Regions from separate parts of the Homo sapiens genome. Here all the other regions are linked to region 4. The links are contacts of gene promoters, found by promoter capture Hi-C in blood cells and fetal thymus (Javierre and others, 2016). All regions are on one chromosome and are shown on one strand. The core of a region is centred on a gene start or on the middle of the fragment in contact, and the rest is flanking DNA. Distances in the headings are between cores, read along the strand shown. Region 1 overlaps GRIK5 (glutamate ionotropic receptor kainate type subunit 5). Region 2 overlaps GRIK5 (glutamate ionotropic receptor kainate type subunit 5). Region 3 overlaps DMRTC2 (DMRT like family C2). Region 4 holds the start of MEGF8 (multiple EGF like domains 8).

Region 1 (3,274 bases), core at 6-2,505, 290 kb before region 4:
AGCTGCCTGTGGGACAGCTAAGGCCCAGTTGTGACTGCAGCGCAGCTCAACTCCTCTGCCCAAGCCTGCTTCCTTCCCTCCTGCACAGGGCAGGTTTCCAGGGGCACGCCATCACACCTCCTGCCTCTACATCTCCATCTCAGAGTCAGCTTCCTGGGACCCTGACCTAAGATCTTCTTTGCCCTTGAAGGCTAAGCTTTATCCTGAGGGCCTCAGGGGCTTCAGTTAAAGCATACAAGTGACAGATCAGACTCACACTGTAGAAAGGTTCTATTGGAGGACAAGCTGGGGAGTGGAGAGACTAGAAGCCAGGAGGCCAGTAAGGAGGCTGATGAGAGGGGTGGGACCTGAATTCACACCATGGCAGTGATGGCAGGGAGAAGGCCAATGTCAGCCATGGCCACTGGGTGGAAAAAATGGGTCATAATTCAAGACAGGCCAAGGAGACCTGTGCCTGGCCCAGGGGTGACTGGCAGGATGGTGGTGCCCCAGGCTGTCTTCCATCTGGAAGTCACTCACCAGCTCTGGGCCACCCTGATGGGGTGCCCACCTTGGCTCTCCTGGTCACTAGCCATGGGCCTGGACATGAAACCTTGATGCCTCACTGTACATTTGAGAAAACGGGGCTAATACCAGTCCCTCTCTCACTGGGTGGCCATGAGGAGTCAAGGATGGAGACAAGTCAGAAAGCTCAGACAAGGGCCTGGCACAGCGTGCCACTCCATCAGTGTACTCCGAGCTTCCCAAGTTCCCAGCTGGAGGGCTGGAAAGGGCACGGGCCTTAAGTCAGACACACCTGGCTGCAGCCCTGTGCACTGGGGACTCCAGATCTCACACTGGGCAGTGATCCTCAGGCCATGAAGGACTGCTATGAAAATTATGTTAAGTAACACTTGAAAAGTTCCTCGCACATGGTGTGAAATCAACAAATGACAGCTGCTGCTGTTGTGATGACGGTGGTGACTATTCCTGTGCAGCTCGGCACACTCGGCTATCCCACAGCAGGGCAAGGCCAAACTCCGCCTATCCTTCACGCTCCAGCTCCTCCTCCAGTGTTCTCCCTGTAAATGTCATTGCCATCACCCAGATGCCCAAGCCAGACACAGGAGGAATGCTCTCCCTCCTGTCCTCTCCTGCATCCCCCACCCTAGGCAGTCACCAAGCCCTGGTGCTCTTTAGCCCTTCCCCTAGTCTCTAGCTCTGACGTTCTCCCGCCTGAGGCCCACCAGCTCATTCCTTATCTCCTCACTGGTCTTCCTGTTACCACTGCTTCCCCCAACCCCAGGGCCAATTCACTTGAGCCAGATCAAAACCCTTCAAGGGTGGCCGGGCATGGTGGCTCATGCCTGTAATCCCAGCACTCTGGGAGGCTGAGGCAGGTGGATCACCTGAGTTCAGGAGTTTGAGACCAGCCTGGCCAACATGGCGAAACCCATCTCTACTAAAAATACAAAAATTAGCCAGGTGTGGTGGCATGCGCCTGTAGTCCCAGCTACTCAGGAGGCTGAGGCAGGAGAATCATTTGAACCCACGAGGCAGAGGTTGCAGTGAGCCAAGATCACCCCATGGCACTCCAGCCTGCCTGGGCAGCAGAGCCAGAGTCCGTCTCAAAACAAAAACAAAAACAAAACTCTTCAAGGGCATCCCATGGGCTTTCTGCTGAGGCCCAAACCCTTTAGCCCACTCAGTAAGAGCACATCGGGCTTGTTCACCATGGTATCCCCAGGGTATAGCACAGGGCTTGGTATACAGTAGGCACTCAACAAACATTGGCTGAATGGAAAATGGATGAACACACAAATCTATGTATGTGCTGGCCATGCTGGTATGAATAATAACAATAATAAAAATAGTATAATCCCAGCACTTTGGAAGGCTGAGGTGGGAGGATTGCTTAAGCCCAGGAGTTCAAGACCAGCCTAGGCAACAGGGCCAGACCCCATCTCTACAAAAAACACAAAAATTACCTAGGCATTATGGCATATGCCTATAGTCCCAGCAACTCGGGAGGCTGAGGTGGGAGGATCGCTTGAGCCCAGGAGGTGGAGGCTGCAGTGAGCTGTGATTGCACTACTGCGCTCCAGCCTGGGCAACAGAGAGAGACCCAGTCTCAAAGGAAAAAAAAAAAAGGACACACGCATACAGCACCCACTATGCACCAGGCCCTGTTCTAAGTTCTTCACTGCATGTTGTTCTTCAAAACAACCCTATGTGCTAAAGGGCTGTTATTCCCCAATTTTACAGTTGAACAAACTACAACCTAAAGAAATGTTAAGCACTTGCCCAAAGCCACACAACCAGTGCACAGCAGAGCTAAGCTTTAAACAGCCAACCACAGACACTCTCAGCTGCCACACTTTGCTGGCCCCAGGCCCCAAATCCTCTCACCCTACCCTACTGAGTAGGCCCTGAGACACAAAGGTCAGACAGCTGTAAATAAGAACTGTTCCAGACTTCTCTGTTGGTGAAAAAAGGGCATCCAGTTTAGAGTGACTTCAGGTGCAGGGCTACTCCCTTGGAGCCTGCTTATTTCTGGGATACCAGATGAAAGAATATTTCTGAGCCTACGTGACTAAAGACCAGGCTGTGGAAACAGGTCACGAGGAAGCCTGTGCCCTCAGGTGGGCATAGAGCTGTCAGCTCTGGGGCTTCTCATCTCCTGTCTCACCCGGGGCCTCTTTGGGCTTCAGGCTTTAAAATTCACCCTGGGCTGGGTGTGGTGTCTCATACTTGTAATCCTAGCACTTTGGGAGGTGAGGTGGGCGGATCACTTGAGGCCAGGAGTTCAAGACCAGCCTGGCCAACATGATGAAACCTGTTGCTCCAAAAAATACAAAAATCAGCCAGGCACGGTGGCGCACCTGTAATCCCAGCTACTCGGAAGGCCGAGGCAGGAGAATCGCTTGAACCCGGGAGGTGGAGGTTGCAGGGAGGCAGAGGTTGCTGTGAGCAGAGATCGTGCCATTGCACTCCAGCCTGGGCAACAGAGGAGACTCTGTCTCCAAAATAAATAAATAAATAAATAAAATAATAATAATAATAAAATTCACCCTGACCTTAAAACTCACCCTGGGGCAGAAGTTTTCAAACCAGCTGGCAGCTTTATGGGGCAGCGCCTTGGGACCTGCCTGTGGGGTGGGGTGGGAGGCACCCCCATCTCTGCCTTCACCAGAGCAGCTCTGCTCTTGCCCAGGGTTCTGAGGGAGTTTGCAATTGGAAAAAAAGTTCTGTCAAAATAACTTTTGAAAGTCAGTGCCCTAAGGGATAAACGTCC
Region 2 (3,224 bases), core at 391-2,890, 320 kb before region 4:
GCCCCACCACCCACATATACTGAATTGTATACACAGTCTCACTGAATTCTCCCAACAGCTCTGGGAGGGCTGGATTGCTGCTAGGCCTGGTTTTGCAGGTTGGGGGTACAGAGGCTCAGGACGGTGATGTCGCCTGCCCAAGACCATACAGCCAGGAGGCCACATGCAACACACCCAGCCTGCCTCGGGGGTGCCTGGCCCGGTCCTGGGCCTGCTCACAGGTGGTTTTGGATGCCCACGGCCCTGCTGTGTTCCACACCGTGCTGTGCCGTACCCAGCGGCATGCCAATGCCGTAGCCCTTGGTGTCGAGGAGTCCCCCGATCTGGGTGAGGTTGCAGTTGAGGCGCCGGTGGTATTCGTTCATGGTGGACTCGAGCAGGAAGGCGTAGCGGGAGTTGAGGACGCGGGCAATGCCCTCTTCTGTGCTCTTGACGAACACGCTGGGCTGCTTCGACTGCATGTAGTTCCACATGCGCTGGTACGTTTGGTACCGTGAATTCTGGGCAGGAGGATCACAAGGGGAAGATGGGAGGGTCTTTCCAGCCGCTTCCTTTCCCCGAGCCCTTCCCATCCTCCAGGAAGTCTCCCTCAACCCAGGAGAATGCAAGGTGATCAAAGGAAGACAGAGCCAAAGGTAGAGGAGAGAGAGGAGATGGACAAACTGTCCAGGCCAGGTCCAAGTCATCCCCACAGCCACTGTGCCCACCACCCACCTGGGGGGCCCGGTGAGTGCACCTCCACCTCCTTCCCCTTAACCCTCCAGCCGGTGGCCGCTGCCCAACTCAGGCCTCCTTTAGACCACTAGGACCTCCCTGCCAAGCTTGCTTTCCTCTTCTTTCCTTCCCACCACCCCAAAATACAAAAGATCAAGCACTTTTCACCTTGAAGGGCCTTCCCTTCTCTCTGTCAGCCCATATTCCTGGTCCCGACCCTTCCAGCAGCCTCCTTGATCCCATTTGGCCCATATGACATTGACATTTGATACCACATATGCCTCCCTGCCCTCATTCCCCAGTTCCCTAGCCAGCCAGCTGCGAGCCCCATGACAGCACATGTGTGTTTTCTGCTCCCCAGCCTCCAGGCTGTCACTGACAATCAGTCCCTCTGACCCAGGAGACCCTGCCCAGACCCATCCTGAGCTGCTTTGCATGGCAGGGATCCCAACACCACGCCTGAGAGGTTCTGGTGGCCCCACCTGGAAGAAGGTCATGGTGGAGCCGGCGTGGATGGTGCCATACTCGATGTTGGTCTGATCTGCCAGGTCATCGGCCGACTCCACAGGCACCTCCATGCGCTGCACGGTGAGGAAGGCGGCCAGGTTGGCCGTGTAGGAGGAGATGATGATCAAGGTGAAGGCCCACCTGAAGGGTGGGAGGGGTGAGTCACGGGCTGGAGTCACCCCTGCTGACCTGCCCCCGTGGCCATGCCCCCCATTGGTGGTGCCCCTCCCAAGTGACCCCAGCATCTGGAAGACTCAGTGACTGCTGGGTGCAGAAGCGGGGAGTGTGGATTCTGAAGCCAGACTTCCTGGTTGTAAATATTGCATCCGGAGACTTCTACTTCCAGATATAAAAGAGTAAGATGGTCTGGAAATACCCTCCCACCATAAACAGCTAAAGAGCTGGATAGAATACAGGAAACTTTTTTCTTTTTTTTTTTTTTTTGAGACAGATCTTGCTTTGTCAGCCAGGATGGAGTGCAGTGGCACGATCTCAGCTCACTGCAACCTCTACCTTTGGGGTTCAAGTGATTCTCCTGCCTCAGCCTCCCAAGTAGCTGAGATTACAGGTGCCCACCATCACGCCCGGCTAATTTTTGTATTTTTAGCAGAGACGGGGTTTCACCATGTTGGCCAGGCTGGTCTCGAACTCCTGACCTCAGGTGATCCACCTGCCTCAGCCTCCCAAAGTGCTGGGATTACAGGAGTGAGCGACCACGCCCGGCCAGGAAACTATTTAAAACATAGGACAAGAGACATCATAGAACTGTGATCCCTGAGAAGAGAAACAAAATGAGTCTTATTGTCCAGGCTGCTTGGCTGGATTTAATTTATAGGAAGGGAAGCCCAAACAGCCCAGCAATCCTGCTGAGTTGCAGAGACGGAGACTGGTGATCAGGCAGGCCAACATGGCTGGAATTTGGGGGATAGAGTGCCTGAGAGGAGGGAGCTGCAAAGAGAGGGAGGATTCAGAAACCGGTGGTCCCCTTGAGTCTTTGGCTGAATATCAATCTGTGCATGCATGGGGTGAAACTCTGTGGGGCTGGACAAGAGCAACTTTCAAGGAGAAAACAATTCTTAGAGTTGACACAGGGCTGAGAGTCTTTTGAGCTCCCTGCAGCCAGAGTAGAAAGATTTCATTGAATACATGAGACATTCAGTAGAGACCCAAAAGTGTAACATACTAGAAATAGGATTAAGTTAGCCCTAGAATAAAGGCAATGCTAAAGCTGCACTAAAAAAGCTTAAAAACAGGCCTAGAAGTATCAAAGTAATTCACAAGTAACCTAACTAGATTCCAGAAAAAGTTTATAAATACTCTGTAAAAAAATATATTCAGCAATGTAAACAATGTCTGTTATGTAATTTTTTTTTTTTTCTTGAGACAGAGTCTCACTCTGTCACCCAGGCTGGAGTGCAGTGGTGTGATCTTGGCCACTCCCGGGTTCAAGTGATTCTCCCGCCTCAGCTTCCTGAGTAGTTGGGATTACAGGCACCTGCCAGCACGCCTGACTAATGTTTGTATTTTTAGTAGAGATGAGGTTTCACCACGTTGGCAGGTTGGCCTTGAACTCCTGACCTCAGGTGACCTGCCCACCTCGCCCACCCAAGGTGCTGGGATTACAGGCATGAGCCACTGTGCCCGGCCTATTACATAATTTTTTAAAAAAATACCAGGTTGGGCACGGTGGCTCACACCTGTAATCCCAGCATTTTAGGAGGCTGAGGTGGGCGGATTGCTTGAGGCCAGGAGTTCAAGGACAACCTGGCCAACATGGCAATACCCCGTCTCTACTAAAAATACAAAAATTAGCTGGGTGTGATAGCACACGCCTGTGATCCCAGCTACTTGGGAGGCTGAGGCACGAGAATCGTTGGAATCCAGGAGGTGGAGGTCGCAGTGAACCGAGATCACCACTGCACTCTGGCCTGGGCAACAAAGCAAGACTCTTGCCTCAAAAAAAAAGGACCAGGTAAACAAAGGTGCAGGAAAATGTGACCTAT
Region 3 (3,493 bases), core at 921-3,420, 470 kb before region 4:
TGGCAAAATCCTGCCCCTCTTTCAATGTGTGCATGTCTGTTCATCTGTTTAACCACCCTGGCATCTTCTCTCCTTGTTTCTAGACACTCAACTCTGATACTCCAGCCCTGTGGCACCCCAGACCCTCTTCAGCTACAGCCACAGGTCCTGGGAAAGAAGTGGGATCTAGGGCCCTGGGAGGAGGTTGAGCCTGGGGAAGGAAAAAGCAGGAAACTGAAGGAAGCAGGGGCTGAGGAACACTTAGAGGGTGGGCAGAAGCGGGGGTTCCCAGTCTGCTTGTCTCCCTTTCCCTTGCAGGCCTCTGGAGCCTCGTGCCTGGCCCGGACATCTGGCCCCTCAGAGTGGCAGCTGCAGCAAGAGGCAGCTGAAGCCCTCGTGGGGCTGAAAGATTCATCCCAGGCTCCTCGTGTGACCCCTTCTGTGCCCCCCAACCCTGCCTGGATCTCCCTGCTTCACCCCTGTGGCCCACCAGGTGGGCCATGAAAGGAGAGGATGGATAGGGATGGCTGGGAAATGGAGATCACTGAAGTACACAGGGACTAACCAAGGAGATGAGGGGGTCGACAGGTTGAACGTCTTCAGGCCCAGGACCCCAAGCTCCTCAGCCTGGCCCCTGGGATTGCAGTTGAGAGTTATTCAGTGAATCCTTTTTATCAGTTTGGCACTCGACAGCAAATTTCTTGATATCAAGGAAAGTGGGGCACTGAGAAAGGCAGGGACTTGCCCAAGGGCATATAGTGAGACAGTGGCAGGGAACCCAATGCTCTGTCTCTGGACCCAGGCTGCCTGCTGAAGTCTGAAGTGGGGTCTGGCCTGGGAGGAGGTCTGATAAGTGCCTTCAAGGAGCTTACGTTCTAGTTAGGGAAATTGGATGCCTTCACAAGGCTCAGTGACAAACCTGAAGAAGATTGGAGGAACCTTGAAGAGTGAGAAACACCTAGGGGGACAGACAGGGAAAGCTGCGAATTCTCTTGTCCAAATAGTGGATTGGGCAGACTGGCCTGGAGGAAATGCTAGAACAGAGGGAAAGGAGGCTGGAGAGGCTTCTGATGGTGGAGATCTGGCATGCCAGGCTTAGGTGTCTAGAACAGCAACTGTATGTGAAGGGGAGCCAGGGAACGTTTCTGAACTAAGCAAGGACAAATTCAGAGACCCTGAGCTTTAGAAAGACAAGTGGGTGGCTTTGATGGACGGTTTGGAGGAGGCAAGACTGGAGGTGGGAAAATTAGCAAGGAGGTCTGTGAAATAATCCAGGAGAACAATGATGAGGCCTGGATTGGATTCGGTAAAAAGAGGGGGTTGCTAGAAGGAAAAACAGGTGTGACCTGATCCTGCCCCTTCCTTCTTGCCTGTAGCTCCTGCTGGAGGAAGAGGATTCCAGCCTGTTGGCCCCTGTCTTCGACCCAGCCCAGCCCCCTCTGTTGCTCTGCATATTGGCCGTCTGGGGTCCATCTCCCTCCTGAGCTAGAAACCCAGAGATGGAGGCTGTCTTGCTATGGCAGGGAGGTGACAGCCTGCTGGCACTGTATATTTAGTGTCTTACTTAAGGATTTATGCATGGAATTTAATGTAGTACAAGCTTCGGGCTTTTTTGTTTGTTTGTTTGTTTGTTTGTTTAAGCTTTCAGGTGCTTCATTAGCTTTCAGTTCCTTTGGTAGTGTGGGCATTTCCTTGGCTGACAGTGGATATTCTTGTACCCTTCTTGGGTCCTGGGATCTCTTGAAATCCCCAATAAAGAGAGAGTTGTGCTATTTAAGCTGACCAGTATCTATAAACGTGTTTGCATGAGTTTACATCCCAGGATTCCATGATTCTGTAAATGCCTATGCATTCATGTCTGTCTCCATGCATGTGAAAACAGGAGAGTGTTTTCATTTTGTGTCTAGGTTTGTGTGAGTAAGCAAGAAATAAACCTTTGTTGTTGTAAGCCACTGAGATTTGGAGAGTGTTACCACAGCCTAACCTAGTCTATCCTGACTGACAGAAAGGACTTGTTCATTTCGCTTCTCAAAGTGAAAAATCTGTTATCCAATAGCTACCATAGATGAAAACAAACTTGGATTTTTTTCTTTGTCCAAATAAAAAAAAATGATGTAAAGAAATAATGGGGGATTCACTGATTAATTGCCCGCTCTGTGCCAGGCATAGACAGTTTCCAGCTGTCTAGAGGGGCTACAAATCGAAATGCCTACAGGGCTGAGCAGATCAAATAAATGAGTAAAGAAGGCCAGATGGACCCTGGCAAACTGAGAATGGATGCCTTGCCTAAGGAGCAGCCTCCTTTTGGCCCTAGCAGATTACTGCCAGGCGGGAATGTGGACTCAGTGTTGCTCCATCTTCTGATTTTTTAAGAGAAACTGGAAAACTAGATTTCCATGTAAAACATCTTAATTTTCAAATGTTGGCTCAGTTTTCTTCTTTAAATTCTATACGTGCCAAATAAAACATATTTTCAGGCTAGCTTTGGCCAGTGGAATACCAATTTGATACATTTTCCAGATGGGGAAATTGAGGCTAACCAGAATAGAAAGAATCGAGTTAGTCTTTATCACAAGTTTTTCCTCAACTAGGGAGGTTCACGTGTCTGAGTTTCGAAGGATCCATAAAAGGTTAAGAAACATTTATTACCATTTATTGAGTGCCCACTCCATTTGATTCACATATCTTCACAGCAACCCTGGAAGTTATGCAGGATGGTTCCCATTTTACAAGTGAAGAAACAAGCTTAAAGAGGTAAAGTAACTTGCCCAAGTGTTTTAGGGGAAATTTCTAGGCAGAGATCAGAGGAGGGTTCCTTCTCTTTGCCAGGCTCCAAATTAGTTAATAATGTTTATAAAGCATTGGGCCGGGTGTGATAGCTCACACCTGTAATCCCAGCACTTTGGGAGGCCAAGGCAGGAGGATCGCTTGAGCCCAGGAGTTTGAGACCAGCCTGAGTAACACGGGGAGACCCTGTCTCTATAAAAACAAATAAATAAAAGCATAGAATGAAAGATGCACCACTCCTTTCCCCAATCAGGACTCCAGAAGATACATACAAGTCAAGAGTTTTTCAAAAAAGTCTTTTATTTTTCTCCTCAAGATATCATTAAGAATAAGATCTTACCTGCATTTGTTTCTCAGTCCTCTGGTGTCAAGTCCTTCTCCTTGAACCATTCCGTACATAGGAAAACCTGTTGAGCTATTCCAAAGACATGAAGCCTGGAGACCCCCTTCCCATTCCCACCCTTAGAAGGGGCTCAAGGGATGTGCTTGATCACTGATTCTTTTTCCTGATGTTACCTACACCCCTTGTTTTACTCAAGATGATTGATGGTGATGACATCCAATTACAACTTGTTATTTCTTATTTGGGATTTTGAGAGGGTGGGTTTCTTCTCCTCCCTAGCAGAGTACAGAGTAACAAACCTGCAGCACTTCTCAGGAGATACTGAGATATCAGGAGACCAAAGTCGGCTTCACACCCTTCTTCCCTCCCCTTAGCTATAACTTA
Region 4 (3,312 bases), core at 603-3,102:
CACCTCCGTAAGCCCCGCGGCCCCAGCGCCCGAGGAGCTGCTGGCGCCGCCCCTGGAGTACCTGACCCCGCTCCCGGCCCCGCCGCCGCCCCCAGCGCCCGGACCCCTGAGCCCTCCTCCTGCCTTTCGCACTCCCCGCGCCCCAACACCGCGCCGCGACCGTCCCCTGGCGCCCGCGCCCACCCTGCCTGACTGGGTTCTGGCGCTGTTGCGCACACCCCCGCAGACTCCCTGCGCCGTGCCCCCACCGCCCGCCTTCCGCGGCTCTCCCCCAGCTCCCCGGCCGCCGCCGGAGTTCGCCCCGCGCGCCCCGACGCCGCCCTTTGAGTACCTGGCCCCGCTGCCCAGGCGCCCCGCCACCCAGTCCTTCCCTGACTGACAACGTGCGTCCACACCTGGGGTGGAAGGGTTCTCCGGGGGAGGGGGACGGGCCTTCGGGGCCGCATCTGCCCCCCGAGGGTCCCGGACGGCCTCTGACCCTGACCCCCCTCCCAGGCCGGGAAGCAGGTGGAGGAGACAGCGGTGGCGGCGGCGGTGGCCCCGAGGGGCCGCGTGGTGACCATGGCCGAGCCGGGCGCAGCCTCCCCCCCACTTCCCGCTCGGTTCCCCAAGGCGGCCGACTCGGGCTGGGACGGCCCGACGCCGCCCTACCAGCCGCTCGTGCCCCAGACGGCAGCGCCGCACACCGGCTTCACCGAATACTTCAGCATGCACACGGCCGGGGGCACTGCACCCCCGGTCTGAGCACCCCTGCCCGCCCCTGCCCCATGGGCCATGACCGGGCCCCGGCCGGGCTCCGGACCCCTGCTTTATCCCGGCCCGAGAGCTCGCCCATCCCCGGCCTTCCCGACCCTTCCCACCCCGCGCGCCCAGGTTGGGTACGCTGCGTCCCGCCCCCCTCCCCTCTGTGCCAAACGGTCCCGCGGGAGCCGCTCTCCCCGTCCCCTCCCTCAGCCCCTGCCCCGAGCGGCGCCGGATTCTGGGCTCCCGCTGTTCCGTGACCTCCGGCCCCCTGGCCCCCTTCGAGACCTCTGACCCCGCTGGACTCCGGAACACCCGTGGTGACCGCCGGGACCCTGCCTGTGACTCTCCAGGACTCTGCGACCCCGGGATGGATATTGCGATGCTGGTCTCGACCCTGAAACCCTCCCTCGGATCTGTGACCTCGGACCCGTACTCCATCTGCCGCATCTCCATTCCGGGGGCCTTCCCTCGGGTCCCTGGCAGAAAGACATTTTACCCCTTCTTGCCAAAATAAAAAAGGATTCGTTTTTATCTATAACATGGCTTCTTTTGCATCTTGATGGTGTTCAGCGGCGGGGCTGAGCCAGAACTATGTCAGGCTCGGGACCTCAGTGTGTCCATCTGTGAAATGGGAATTTGGAACCGGAGGCAGGGGCCTGTATAACCTGATCTTTATGTTGCCCCAGAATGTGGGAACATTGAAGATGATCAAACATCTAGCAGGGTCTTGCACCGCTCCTTTATTTTTGCCTTCCTTTCCTCACTCAGAGGTAGAGGCGCCCTCCAGTGGCCCATGCTTTGCTGAACCACAGGCACCCAGAGTTTGGGTTACGATCTTAGCACTGCGCATATGTGTATTTCTCTCCCTCCAGGAGGACGCTGCTGCGCATGCGGTTGGGAACAAATGGGCGGGGATTTCCCCGGAAGTCTCCCTTTATGGAGGGTTGGGGTTGGGCGCTCCGCAGTCCTCCCAGGGCCGCTCTGACCGGCCGCTCTGTAACTTCTCGCCTCCTCTTCGCCGTCCCTCCCACAGCGGCTGCTCGGCTCCCGCCCCCTCGCCCTCCCACAGCGGGTCTTCCCGCGGCCGCTCTGGCCCAAGCGTCCCCTCGTCTCTCTGATCTGGCCCATCCGGCTTCGGAGGGAGGCGAGGGTGGGTGAGCAAAGGGATTGGGTCTGTGGGGTCCAGGCCCGAACCCCTGAAGACGGGCTCCGCCCCCGGCACCCGCTCGCGCCCCGCCCCCGGCTGGAGGAGTCTCTCCTGGACCATCCGAACCTAGCCTGTCCCGGCCCGCAGCCTCTATGGAGGCTCCTGCCGGGCCGTAGAGCCCTTCGCCCCCTGGGGACCCACCCGTCTATAAGGTCCGTTTGGCCTGCAGCAGCCTGAGTCCGTAATGCTGGGCACTGTTCATGGGATCGGCCCCCTATGGAGCCCTGTGTCTATAGGGGACTCCTACGGTCCCTAGGGTTCGGCCCCGTCCATAATGACTCCATATACAGGGCCTTCCATCGCTCTATAGGGCTCAGCCCTCGGCTTCCAGAGCCTGTCAGCAGTGGCCGTACCCTTCGCCGGGACTGCCGGGTCTCCGGGACCTCTTCGATCTACAAGGTCATGTTATGCCTATAGAGGTCGCATTTGCAGGGCCTCACCCCGGGTAGAGGGTCCTCTCCAGGTTTTTACGGCCTGTCCCCGCTCTAAGGGTCAGTGCAGGAGGCGGCGATGGCCCTGGGCAAGGTTCTGGCCATGGCACTGGTTTTGGCCTTGGCCGTGCTGGGGTCGCTGTCCCCTGGGGCCCGGGCGGGGGACTGCAAGGGGCAGCGGCAGGTGCTGCGGGAGGCGCCAGGCTTCGTGACGGATGGTGCGGGCAACTACAGCGTCAATGGCAACTGCGAGTGGCTCATCGAGGGTGAGTGGGGCCGCGTGGGTCACTCACTAATTCGCTGGTAGTTCATTCATGTGTGCATTCATCCACTCACCACATTCCCAGAGCTCGGTTCTGGTCCAGGCCTTTTGCTCTAAAATGCCTGACACCCAGGGTTGCAGCCAACCTGGGCCCTGCCCTGGAAGGCCTCCAAGTCTGGTGGGGGAGATGCACCTACACCCAGATTTACAATTACAAGACAGGAGCATCAGTGCCGGGCCTTCTGAGTAACTGTTAAGAACTCAGGGTCTGGGTCCAATCATTTGGCTTTGAATTTGGTTCTACTACTACTACTTTTTTTTTTTTTTTTTTTTGAGATGGGGGCCTCACTCTGTCACCCAGGCTGGAGTGCAATGGTACCAACACAATTTACTTACTGCAGCCTCGACCTCCTGGGCTCAAGTGATCCTCCCACCTCAGCCTCCCAAGTAACTGAGTGTGTAGAGACAGAGTCTCACCATGTCGCCCAGGCTAGTCCTGAACTCTTGGGCTCAAACGATCCTCGCACCTCAGCCTCCCAAAGTGTTGGGATTGTAGGTGTGAGCCACTGTGCCTGGCTTCTTATTATTAGCTTTGTGACTTTGAGCAGGTGGTTTTCTTTCTCTGAGGTTCTGTTTCCTTCCCCCACAAATGGGATAACAACAGTACT

The links. Contacts are between HindIII fragments. The CHiCAGO score rates a contact against its expected background, and 5 or more counts as called.
Region 1: a fragment that was not itself captured here is called in contact with the fragment with the promoter of MEGF8 in region 4 in 4 of 17 cell types (total CD8 T cells, erythroblasts, naive B cells and 1 more); the score reaches 6.0 in total CD8 T cells.
Region 2: a contact is called between a fragment that was not itself captured here and the fragment with the promoter of MEGF8 in region 4, in 1 of 17 cell types (fetal thymus). The highest score is 5.3, in fetal thymus.
Region 3: a contact is called between a fragment that was not itself captured here and the fragment with the promoter of MEGF8 in region 4, in 4 of 17 cell types (total CD8 T cells, fetal thymus, total B cells and 1 more). The highest score is 6.0, in total CD8 T cells.

Annotation. Positions count from the first base shown.
Region 1 is chr19:42,037,868-42,041,141 of GRCh38, forward strand. The region is part of intron 12 of GRIK5 (glutamate ionotropic receptor kainate type subunit 5); the gene reads right to left. Among named protein-coding and RNA genes, the nearest start is that of GRIK5, 31 kb to the right of the region's middle. The HindIII fragment of the contact is 2,122 bases long and covers 195-2,316 here.
Region 2 is chr19:42,005,449-42,008,672 of GRCh38, forward strand. GRIK5 (glutamate ionotropic receptor kainate type subunit 5) reads right to left here. Exons shown (of 20, transcript NM_002088.5): 16 at 1,197-1,362; 17 at 275-500. Among named protein-coding and RNA genes, the nearest start is that of ATP1A3, 13 kb to the left of the region's middle. The HindIII fragment of the contact is 1,642 bases long and covers 820-2,461 here.
Region 3 is chr19:41,850,229-41,853,721 of GRCh38, forward strand. It overlaps DMRTC2 (DMRT like family C2), which reads left to right. Exons shown (of 9, transcript NM_001040283.3): 7 at 84-144; 8 at 298-472; 9 at 1,356-2,105. The coding sequence ends at 1,468. Among named protein-coding and RNA genes, the nearest start is that of DMRTC2, 6.9 kb to the left of the region's middle. The HindIII fragment of the contact is 1,104 bases long and covers 1,619-2,722 here.
Region 4 is chr19:42,323,783-42,327,094 of GRCh38, forward strand. MEGF8 (multiple EGF like domains 8) reads left to right here and starts at 1,853. Exons shown (of 42, transcript NM_001271938.2): 1 at 1,853-2,648. The coding sequence starts at 2,462. TMEM145 (transmembrane protein 145) reads left to right here. Exons shown (of 15, transcript NM_173633.3): 14 at 1-7; 15 at 955-1,282. The coding sequence ends at 1,035. RefSeq lists silencers at 1,779-1,968, 2,009-2,148, 2,369-2,438, 2,449-2,518. The HindIII fragment of the contact is 9,695 bases long and covers 1-3,312 here.